Linked DNA regions of Homo sapiens: all the other regions are linked to region 3. Evidence: promoter capture Hi-C in 16 types of primary human blood cells and fetal thymus (Javierre and others, 2016). All regions are on one chromosome and are shown on one strand. The core of a region is centred on a gene start or on the middle of the fragment in contact, and the rest is flanking DNA. Distances in the headings are between cores, read along the strand shown. Region 1 holds the start of FAM193B (family with sequence similarity 193 member B). Region 2 overlaps ZNF346 (zinc finger protein 346). Region 3 holds the start of MXD3 (MAX dimerization protein 3).

Region 1 (3,486 bases), core at 369-2,868, 240 kb after region 3:
GTGCTATAAACGAGGATTTGGGTTGTTAGGAAACAGATCAATGTGGTTTAGTGGCCTGAAACAATTGAAAGCCATTTGGGATCCCAATTAAACTCAAGGTCCTGCTTTAAATGTGTACAGGTTATGCCAATGAGTGAAGGGGCCTGGAAAGAACCAAAGATGCCTAAGGAGCATACGCTGTCTAAAAGGGCCAAATGCTACTCAGAGACTACTGATTACTGCCTTGTGGAAAAGTGGACCCAGCATCACCATATCTTTAGTTTAAAAAAGAGCCCCAAATCCAAATGTGTGGGAAACCTTTTGATCTTTAAAATATTGGCTCAAATGAAAATAAAAACAGAAACAAAACAATATGTGAGCTGGGGCATTACAACAAGCCTGTGGACTGGAAGTGGTCTTATTTGCCACCTTTGGATTCAGTTTGGTATATGACACTGAGTTTCATCTTCCTTATCCACTCTGTAGATGTAAGACAGGGTTATGAGTGGCAATGGGAGCCAGAGTTCCTCACCAAAAACACGCTTGTAGGCAGAGCAATGACTGAACCCTACCCTTACACTAGGTGCTTTGCACCAGGGCACAAAAGCCTGCTTCCAGACCCCACCCCCGGTCAAAGTGGGGCATAACTAGAACCGAATTTACCAGTTTGTTTCCCTTCTTTGGGGCTATAGTTTAAAAAAAAATGCCTTGTTGAAAATCCCCCAAAGTACCTAAAAGTCCTTTTCTTTTCTTTTGTCTGACACCTACAGTTGGAGTCATTTGGGCAAATGTTTAGTTGCTCTGAGTTTCTGTTTCTTCATCTGAAAAATGGAGTAATGATAATTATATCCTCCAGTTTGTTGATCAATATTTGTTAACCACCAGGCACAGGGGTACAATGGTGACTGACATGGCTCCTGAACTCGCAGAGTTCACAAATAAAAACAAATAATCACATCAATGGTCAATTCATCATATTTGTGCTAAACGCTGCGGAGAAATACAGGTGAGGTGGGAAGATTAGAAGTAAGGTATGTAAAGTGCCTGGCACAAATAAATGAATCAGCAGGTCAAGTAGTGGAGTAGGTAAGAACATGGTAGGAACCTAGATGTCAAAGAAATTGATGAAGCTTAGAGCTCTTGGCAAAGTTGTGTCCTTAATAAAAACTGAATGGTTGAGCCATCATCCAAGCTTTTTGGCATCTCTATGTGGCAGAGACCCTGAAGTATTCTATGGTCTGCTGAATGGGAAGAAGAGAAGACAACAGCTTTCCAGCTCTCCCTTCTCCCACTCTCCCTTTTTGGATAACAGCACTCCCACGGGGGTCCCAGAGTAGGCTGGTGGGGGAAGCAGCTTTGGGGTTGGAAGCTAGACCCAGTAGGGGTTGGGGGTCCAACCTGGGGAGTCTCCTACGGAAGTGTCAGCCTAGGATAGGAGATGGGGATGCGGATGAAGGTGGAGCTTCTGACACTCAGTAAGTGCTGACATTTTCATTAATTAAAAACCTTATTGTGATCTGAGACACAAAGGAAATCAGCATGAAAACTGGGTTACAATAAGCACGGGTTCTGGACCGATTCATTTTCTCTCTCATTCACCTAGTTATTTTTATTCTGTGTTAGCAAGGCCCTGGGCGAGGCGTGGAAGATCAGAGAAAGATGGCATAGCCTGTGTCCCTGTGGAGTTCACAGTCCAGGGCAGGCAACAGACATATCAACACAATGTTTCATCACAGAAAGGGGAGTGCTACCAGAGGGAGGCACAGAGGGCTGTGGGCACAGAGAGGGCACCTGACGCAACTGGGGAGGTCAGGGGAGGCTTTGTGGGAAGGTACCCCAAACGGCAACCCCACTCACATGCACAATTCCAGAGATTCTACTAGAAGGCTGTCAAGAGCCATGCCTTCTGGCTGCACCAGCCTCCCAGAGTCCCCTGCTGCCCGATGCAGTGTCTGCAGAGCCAAACGCATCTTCCGCCACGCCTCATCCTCATCCGGCGCCGCATCCGACCCTCCAAGACTCCTGCAGGAGCCTGCCTTCCTGGGCAGGCTCAGCCAAAAGACCAACTCAAAACTCTTTTGTCAGAGCAAGCTTAGGGAGAGCCACCCAGCCCCGAGTGCCACAACCCTCCCAGAGCAACCGTGGCCCATGTCACCCCCGCCTCTCAGTGAACTTTGGCAGGGTACCTCCCGTTATCTCCTTTGCTCAAAAGAAAGTGACCTTCTTCCAGGTGGCAAGCTGGAAGCTTTGGGGAATCCTCCTACTGTTCGCTCTCAGCAGGATTCTCCAAACCTGGGATCTCAAGGTCGGGGTGGGCTGCCTTGCGGAGCAGGGGAGGGAAGAAGGGCAGGTTCTGCTGGGTTTCCACCTCAGTGCAGAAACCCCACCAAAAACTCCTCCGGGCAGCCTGGCTGTCTGCTCCAACTGCTCTGCTGGGTATGGCGAGGAGGCGCCAGGAGACACAGCTGCTGAGGGGGCCGCGGCTGCAGGCGCTGCAGGGGACGGAGTGGAGCCGTTCCCGGGGGCAGAGGGAAGAGGCTGCAGTCGTCCAGTCCCAGAGCCCCGAGATGGCCTGTGGCTGAGGGAGCAGGTGGGCCCGGGGGAGGTGGCGGGCCGAGAGCGGAGCTGCGGCCTCGGGATCACAGCCCAGTCCCAGTCCCAGTCCCAGTGTGGGTGTACGGCCGGAACGCCCGGAGGCGGCGGGGAGAGGGGAGCAGCTTCAGCCTAGTCGCAGGAGCGCGGACCGAGCCTCGGCTTTGGGGAGAGGGGTCCAGCCTCCATTCCCGCCCCGGGGGAGAAAGCTTCGGCGCCGGACCCGGGGGAAGGCTGCTACCCCAGCCGCGGCAGGATGGCCCATCCCCAACCCCGCCCCACTCCCGCTCCCGCTCGGGGAAGGTGAAAGCGCCCGAGCCGCCGAAGTCTCCCCGCTCGCTCCTACCTGCGGGCCGGGCACCAGGTTGGGTTCGTCATCCTCCCTGGGGCCGTCGTGGTCGGGCTCCGCCGGCGCCTCCGGAGGGCCTGCACCCGCTCCCGCCTCCAGGCTTGGCGGCGGCGGGGGCTCGGGCGCCTGGGGCTTCTGCGGCCCCGCGGCCCGAGCCCGCTCGCGCCTGCCCGCACCGCCGCTCGGCCTGCTCCGCCTCCGCGTCATGCCGCCGCTCGCGCCGCTCCCTCGCTCCACACGCCGCCGCCGCCGCCGCCGCCGCCGCCGCCGCCGCCGCCGCTACCGCTCCCCTCACAGGACAACAGCCAATATGGCGGCGCCCGGTTCCCCCCCTCCGCCTGCTGCCAACAGGTCAGAGGGCACGCGGAGTCCGCGCCGCCGCACTAGCCCCCGAGGCCGCCTGCGCCATTTTGAATAAGGTCACCACCCGGAGTTCGCTGGGAGAAAAACTTGGTGGGGAGACGCCCTTCCCCCCCTACGCGGGACGGGAAGGATGCAACCTGCTGGAGGAACGCGTGTAATGCGGTGGTAATCGCGCTGCACCACCCTAGCACTTAATAATTGCC
Region 2 (3,790 bases), core at 347-2,846, 250 kb before region 3:
AGTCTAGCAGAGAAGACAGGCATTGAGCAAACAGTTACAACTGTGACAAACTTCAGAAAAAAAGACAAATGCAAGACTGTGGGCACATAAAATGAGAGGAGATAAGATGGGGGAGCAGGGATCAAGAAAGGCACCCCAGAGGGCAAGTAGGATAGTATGGGACGTAGTGACGCGGAGGACATGAGCAGGTGTCCACGCATGGCTTTGTGGGTCATGTTAGGGCAGCGGGCCTTCACCCTGAGAGCACTGGGACTGGGAAGCCGCTGCCAGTTTGAGCTTTACGGGCGGATCATCCTGGTTCCAGCGTGAGGAGGTTTGGAGCCTGGGCAACATGGCACAACCCCACCTCTACAAAAAGAAGAAAATACAAAAATTACCCAGGTGTGGCCAGGCACGGCGGCTCACGCCTATAATCCCAGCACTTTAGGAGGTCGAGGTGGGTGGATCATGAGGTCAGGAGTTTGAGACCAGCCTGGCCAACATGGTGAAACCCCATCTCTACTAAAACTACAAAAATTAGCCGGGCGTGGTGGTGCACGCCTGTAATGCCAGCTACTCGAGAGGCTGAAGCAGGAGAATTGCCTGAACCCAGGAGGCGGAGGTGCCTCCACTGCACTCCAGCCTGGGTGACAGAATGAGACTCCATCTCAAAAAAATCAAAAATAAGTTGGGCTGGGCACAGTAGCTCAACACCTGTAATCCCAGCACTTTGGGAGGAGACCAAGGCGGGCAGATCACCTGAGGTCAGGAGTTTGAGACCAGCCTGGCCAACATAGTGAAACCCTGTCTGTACTAAAAATAGAAAAATTAGGCATGGTGGCACGCACCAGTAGTCCCAGCTACTTGGGAGGCTGAGGCAGGAGAATCGCTTGAACCTGGGAGGCAGAGGTTGCAGGGAGCAGAGATCACGCCATTGCACTCCAGCCTGGGCAACAAGAGCAAAACTCCATCTCTAAATAAATAAATAAGTTGTGGGCTGGGGTGGTGGCTTACGCCTGTAATCCCAGCACTTTGGGAGGCCGAGGCGGGTGGATCACGAAGTCAGGAGATCAAGACCATCCTGGCTAACACAGTGAAACCCCATCTCTACTAAAAATACAAAAAAAATTAGCTAGGTGTGGTGGCAGGCGCCTGTAGTCCCAGTTACTCAGGAGGCTGAGGGAGGAGAATGGCGTGAACCCGGGAGGCGGAGCTTGCCGTGAGCCAAGATCGCACCACTGCACTCCAGCCTGGACGACAGAGCAAGACTGTCTCAAAAAAAAACAAGTTGCGGTGTAATTGGTTTGAGGGTAAGAAAAGCTAAGGATCAGGCCGGGTGCGGTAGCTCACGCCTATAATCCCAGCGCTTTGGGAGGCCTAGACGGATGGATCATGAGGTCAAGAGAGAGAGACCATCATGGCCGACATGATAAAACACTGTCTCTACCAAAAATACAAAAATTAGCTGGGTGTGGTGGCACATGCCTGTAGTTCCAGCTACTTGGGAGGCTGAGGCAGGAGAATCCCTCGAACCCGGGAGGCACAGGTTGCAGTGAGCCAAGATCGCGCCACTGCACTCCAGCCTGGCCACAGAGCGAGACTCCGTCTCAAAAAAAGAAAAGAAAAGGATCAGAAGAAAGGAAAGGATCTAGCTAAGATCACTTGAAAGCAGAACCAGCAGTTCAGTTCCCTATCCTGGCTCCTCCCTCACTACCAGACCATGTGGGAAAAGCCACTTTGTCATTGGAGCAGCCCTGAGATAGGGTCTGTGATTCCCAGGGTAGAAAGACAGATTGATTATCATAACCAGCGTTCTCACTAATTACTGTTACCGCAAGCCCTAGGAGAGTGGCACCTTCCCAGAGATCTCTCAGTGAAGGACGTCCTTAATGAGGCCACTTAGCACAGTCAAGGTAGAAATACAGACCAAATGTCACCTCTCTGTTCTGTCATTCTTTTATCACTCAGCAGACAGCTAGTCTGGGCCAGGCTCTACGCTGGAACGAGGGACACAGGAATGAGGATCTTCCCAACCCCAGGAAGCACATAGGCACACAGTCTGTGCCTCCTTAGCACTGTGGCCTCTGGGTTCTCATCAGGGCCAGCAACCTCACCTCGCCTCACCTGTCCGTCCTTAGAAGGGCATTTGTACACTCTGAAAAGCAACGGTCTTCAGGTTCCTTCTTTCTGGATTACTAAGATCTTGATTTTGATGTGTTTCAGCTGGAAAGGGCTACCCCTGCAAAACATGTAAGATAGTGCTGAACTCCATAGAACAGTACCAAGCTCATGTCAGCGGCTTCAAACACAAGAACCAGTAAGTAACCATTTTTTGAAATTCTAGGATCCATAGCAGGAGCTCAGGACTTCTGCATCAGAACAAAGCCAGGTAGTTCTCGGCTGAAATGGAATCCTGGCAGTCTTTTTTCAGTGAACAGAAGATGAATCATGTAACAGGAACAAGTGTCTCCTCTATATGTATTTCTCCACCAGCTTCTGCCCAGCCTTTAGACCTGTTGGACTCAAGGGTTTAATAGAGAAGCATACATGATTTCCTTGGTGGGACCCTAAGAACACCTGGCTGTCCTAGTCTGTAGCACTCTGACTGGGGAAGTGCTTTTCCACTGGCCTGGAGACCCTCTCCTTTTCTGGCAGGAGTTCCCTCTATAGGTCATTATCAAATATGACCAGGCCCTCTCATTCCTTAATCAAATATATATTGAGCATCTTCTGAATGATGGCCAAGACAGACCCAGTCTCTGCTCTCCTGACCTTACAGCCTGGTGGGAGGAAACAGACTAAGCAAGTAAACAACCAATAATCACAGATTGTGATAAGGGTTTTGAAGGAACCAGGTGAACAGAGAGTTACCTGTTCATGGTAATCTTGGAAGTGACTAACATTCATTGAGCCCCTCTTCTGTTGCAGGCCATATGTCAAGCAGATTTTCTCAGGTAATCCTTCCAACCCTGAGAGGAAGAGATAATTATTCCCATTTTATACATATAGACAACCAGCATTCAAAGTGGTGATGTGAATGAAGCAAGGTCATGATTCAAACTGAAGCCTGTCTGGCTCACAGCATGCTCTTCCCAAGGCGTCAGGCTCAGAAGTAGGCTATGGCACCACTGATATGAAGAGAATAGGGCCTGGCCTGGAGGGCCCACATGGTTCTGTCCCTTCCTCTCCGAAGGGAAACGTGTGGTATGAGCAGTGTGCCACAACATAACGTTTTTTTTTTTTTTAGTAGAGATGGGGTTTCACCATATTGGCCAGGCTGGTCTCAAACTCCTGAGCTCAAGTGATCCATCTGCCTCGGCCTCCCAAAGTGCTGGGATTACAGGCATGAGCCACTGCACCTGGCCCCAGCATAACCTTCTGAGATAGGTAGAAGAATTCCCATTTTACAGACAAGGAAACTGAGTTTCAGGCAGGCAAGCTGCCGAAATGATTGCTTTGACTTTGGTCATTGATTTTGCTTTGCTCATTGAGCTGAATGATTTAAAGGTGGTAGAAACACAGAGTATTGGTGTAAAAAATGTCCTTAGTTCTCTCTGCTCTGCCTGGAGTCTCCTCTCTCACACTGTAGCAGATCATCCTCTTTACCTGTGAATATGTTTTTTACTTTGGGGGACTCTTAGGTGTAGACTTGAGTTGCCCCAGCAACTCAGCCCCACAGTGTTTCAGCATACATACCTCCCTTGCAGCCTGGCTGATGGCAGTTACAGTAGACAACCTGAAGCCAACCAGAGCCCCTCCCTGGGGCTACCCACACCTGAAATTGCCAGTGTTGTTCGCTGCTCTCTTGCTA
Region 3 (3,602 bases), core at 978-3,477:
GGAGATAACGCAAGCCAGGGAACTGGGCATGGGTCCTGAATCTGCCGCCCATCAGCTGTGCAACTTGTTGGCCCTCAGCCTAGCTGTGCCTTCATGTATTCCTCTAGAGGGCAGGAAAAGTCCTGTGGTTTCCAAGGCCACTTCTGACATGGCCAGGGCCACCTGGGCCTTTATTCAGCACATCCACTCCTGTCCACCAGGGGGCACTGAGCTCAGCCCCAGCAGCAGCAGGAGCCCTGGGAGGACCAGTGACTGGCGTCTTCTCAGTCCTTTCCCCTCCTGTCCCTGGAGCTGCCTCCCAGGTGGCACCAGGATAGACTGCCCATAACAGGAGGCCTTGAAGGTGAGAGGGGGAGAGCAAGGACCAACCCTCTACAGTCCCAAGGACCCCCACATACATCCCATCACAGAATTCAACAGCCATCCCCTCCCCTCAAACAGGAGGGAAGGTTAGTCCAGACAGGCTAAGTAACCTGCCCAAGGTCTCACAGCTGTGATCTAAGTGATAACAGCTGTAACAGCAACAGTGAACATTTATAGAGTGAACTCATTTAAGCCTCAACAACCCTCTGAGTTATTGTCTGCTTTTCTTCCCATTTAATGGATCTGGAAAGTAAAAGCTCAGAGAGCTGTCCTAAGTCACACAGTTCTTGAGCTCTGACCTCAGGTCTCGTTCCCCAGTCCCACCAGCCCCTCCATAGCACAGCCCTCCATACACCAGGGCAAGCCAGTCCGGGCGCAGTGGGGGGCCTCACCTGGATGTGCATCCTGGCACGGCGCAGCAGGCTCAGCGTGGTGTACCGGGCACAGTCGGCCCCCAGGGGCATCTGCTGCTTCAGCCGCTCCAGGCACCGCTTCAACTGGGCCCTCCTGTGGGGAAGAGGTCTGGAGGGCAGTGCCAGCCCCACCTTGCCGGCCACAGGAATGGCAGGGGAGGGAAGGCCAGAGGGCAGTGGCCCCTGGGGGCTGGCGCTGTCAGGGCAGGACTGGGACTCACCTGCGCTTCTCCAGTTCATTGTGCACTGACCTGCCAATGCCAGAGAGGATGAGGTGAAGGGGAATCAGCTACTGCCCATGCCCCAATCCCAGGGCCCCCAGTGGCTCAAGAGCCACTACAGATGTCTGCCCCAAACAAGTCCCCTGTGGAGAGCTCATGCTGGCCTCAGACACCAGAGTCCCCTGGCAGGGCGAGGGGAGTCAAAGACACACGGAGCCAAATGCTTAACAGAAGCCTGCCCAGGTGGGTATGAGGGCCCTAACAAGGGCGCCTGCCAGCTGGCCAGAAAGGACCTCCCAGAGGTGACAGCTAACTGCGGAAACAGATGTTTCCCAAGCCGGTACTGGAGGGAGGGGCATTCAAATAGGAGGGAACAGCATATGCAAAGGGCTGGGGAGAGGAGAGAAGAGGAGGAAGCCAGCGGGGGAGGTGAGTGGCCTGATGTGTGGGGTGCGGGAGTGCGAGTGGAAGCGGGACCCCAACTGCTGTTGGCAGTTCCCGGCACATCTAGAGGTGCTCAAGAAATAGTCCTTGAATGAATAGAAAGGTGTGAGTGTGTTTGGAGAGTGGGGAGATGGCAGGAGGGGTCTGAACGCTTCCTGGAGCGGGACACCTGGCCCAAAAGATGCAAGCAACAAGTGGGCAGAGGAGGGCCCGACCAGGGGCGGCGCCCACCCCCACCCCCACTCCCGCCGCCCCCGGCCTCCTCACCGCCCGCTGTCCTGCGCGCCAGGAGCCTGGGGGGGTCGCTTCTTCCTCCTGTGGATGGGGCCTGGACTGCGATGCGGGCACAGGGACGCATAACCATGCTCGGCCTCTGCCAGAGAGAGTCCCCGCCCGCGTCAGGCTGGGGCTGGACCTGGTCCCAGCGGCAGCCCCAGGCACAGCACGGTCAAGGAAAGGCTTTTGGCGCCAGGACCATTTCCCCCACCCGTCCCTGCTCTACCGCCCCGGGACTCCTCTCGAGTTGAGGGCGAGGCGCCCCGGGATTACTGTCCTAGGGCGGTGCATCCTTCAAGCTGGGAGCCAGGTCCAGTCCAGGCCCGTGTCAGCGAGGTCGCCGCCCGGAATTCAGCCAAGGGTCCTTCCTCACCTCTCTCACGGCGCTCCAGGAACTCGGCCGCCTGCAGCAGGACCTGGATGTTGCTGGCCAAGGGTTCCATGTCGGCGACAGCTGGCGGCGGGCCGGCCTAGGGTGCCGGCCGGAGCAAGCGGCTGCAGCACTTTTGTTACAAAGTAACTGACACGGTGCAACAAACACAGGGGCCCGCCCCGCCCCCGGGACGCCCCGCCCGCGGGAACGCCCAGCCCTTGGCTCCGCCCCTCTGGAACCCGCCACGGAGCCGCAGCCCACCCTCCGGCAGCCGCCCCGCCCCGAGTGGTCTCAGACTTTCCAGGGGCAGGTAAGGGCGCTGGCTCCAGGCCTGGCCCTGGAGCGAACCCTCAGGCTAACCGGTGCTGCTTCTTGCCCGCCTCACTCATCCACCCACGCCGGCTCATTGGCGTCTTTGATCTCAGCTTCCAGCCCCGTGCTAGTGACTAGCCCCCAACATAGCACGGCGCTCTGGGGGCCTGGTGGTCCCCTGAAAGCGCCGGGCCCAGCCGCTGCACGTGGGTGCCGCGGGGGCGGGGCCTCCGGCCGCCGCTCGCCCATTCGCACATGGCTTCTCAAGGATCGCTGTTGTCATCCTCGGGGCGGGGTCGGGGAGCCTCTGATGCCCTATTGGCTGGCGCTCTGCCCCGCCCTCTCCCGCCGCTGATCCACACGTTCGGGCGGGAAAAGAAGCAGGTTTCAAATTTGAAAACCCAAGCGATGGGGCGGGGTTGAGAGGGGAGCTGGGCCTCAATGCGCAGGCGCCGGCGGAGGGGCGGCGGACCCGGCTCCTGCCCTCCGGGGTCTGTCCCCAAGCCTGCCTGCCATCTGCCCCCGAAGGCCCCCGTGGGCCCCAGCTTCCTACTGTGTCGAATGGGAATAATATCTCGGCCCCCCTCCTCTTCTGTGAGGAAGCTGTTGTTGCTACGAAAACGTCAGTGGGGTAACAGCTTCCTCAGGCAGGCCATACCCTGGAGGCACGCGAAATGGCCTTTTCCGGGGCCTTGGGCTCTGGTATCCACGCAGTTGGGGTCCTCTCCTGTCACTGATGTCTCAGCTGTGTATGACTCAGGAGGTGACCTCCGTCTCTAAGCCTCAGGAGCCCTGCGACAGCGTTGAAGGATCAGAGCCAATGCCTCTGCGGTGCCCATGGCATGAAGGAGCCGCCCATCTCAAAGGCCAGTGCAACCAGACCGCGGCGTTTGCCTCCCAGGCAGCCCCTGCTTGCCTTACTCAGAGTCCATAAACCCTTCTTGCACCTGACTCTCCTAGCCGGCCGAAGGAGTGGCTGTGATGACTTCTAGCCTCAGCACCAGCAGGTGGGGCCACATCTGGGGACAGGAAGATGAACGCAGCTGTAGCAGGGTGGAGCATTGCTGCCAGCCACGGGCTGAGTCTGTGACTCCAGTAATCCCAAAATAGAGAGGGGAGGGAAGGTGGGAGGGATAGATGCTCTGTAAAGAGACAGTCCTGGTAAACACAAGCACATGTCAGTCAGGCCTCAGTTCCTTG

Evidence for each region. The method cuts DNA at HindIII sites, captures the fragments that hold promoters and counts their contacts. A CHiCAGO score of 5 or more calls a contact.
Region 1: a contact is called between a fragment that was not itself captured here and the fragment with the promoter of MXD3 in region 3, in 11 of 17 cell types (total CD8 T cells, monocytes, naive CD4 T cells and 8 more). The highest score is 10.6, in total CD8 T cells.
Region 2: a contact is called between a fragment that was not itself captured here and the fragment with the promoter of MXD3 in region 3, in 1 of 17 cell types (megakaryocytes). The highest score is 5.6, in megakaryocytes.

The regions. Positions count from the first base shown.
Region 1 is chr5:177,551,332-177,554,817 of GRCh38, forward strand. FAM193B (family with sequence similarity 193 member B) reads right to left here and starts at 3,232. Exons shown (of 9, transcript NM_001190946.3): 1 at 2,918-3,232. The coding sequence starts at 3,127. It overlaps FAM193B-DT (FAM193B divergent transcript), which reads left to right and starts at 3,297. Exons shown (of 3, transcript XR_941274.3): 1 at 3,297-3,486. RefSeq lists silencers at 2,401-2,510, 2,841-3,050 and enhancers at 2,931-3,434, 3,161-3,320, 3,341-3,486. The HindIII fragment of the contact is 899 bases long and covers 1,170-2,068 here.
Region 2 is chr5:177,059,856-177,063,645 of GRCh38, forward strand. ZNF346 (zinc finger protein 346) reads left to right here. Exons shown (of 7, transcript NM_012279.4): 6 at 2,203-2,296. Among named protein-coding and RNA genes, the nearest start is that of FGFR4, 25 kb to the right of the region's middle. RefSeq lists an enhancer at 1,830-3,029. The HindIII fragment of the contact is 5,627 bases long and covers 1-3,790 here.
Region 3 is chr5:177,309,671-177,313,272 of GRCh38, forward strand. MXD3 (MAX dimerization protein 3) reads right to left here and starts at 2,228. Exons shown (of 6, transcript NM_031300.4): 1 at 2,091-2,228; 2 at 1,709-1,814; 3 at 998-1,027; 4 at 756-870. The coding sequence starts at 2,160. RefSeq lists enhancers at 33-82, 329-1,195, 1,453-1,652, 3,303-3,362 and silencers at 2,203-2,382, 2,513-3,082. The HindIII fragment of the contact is 10,591 bases long and covers 1-3,602 here.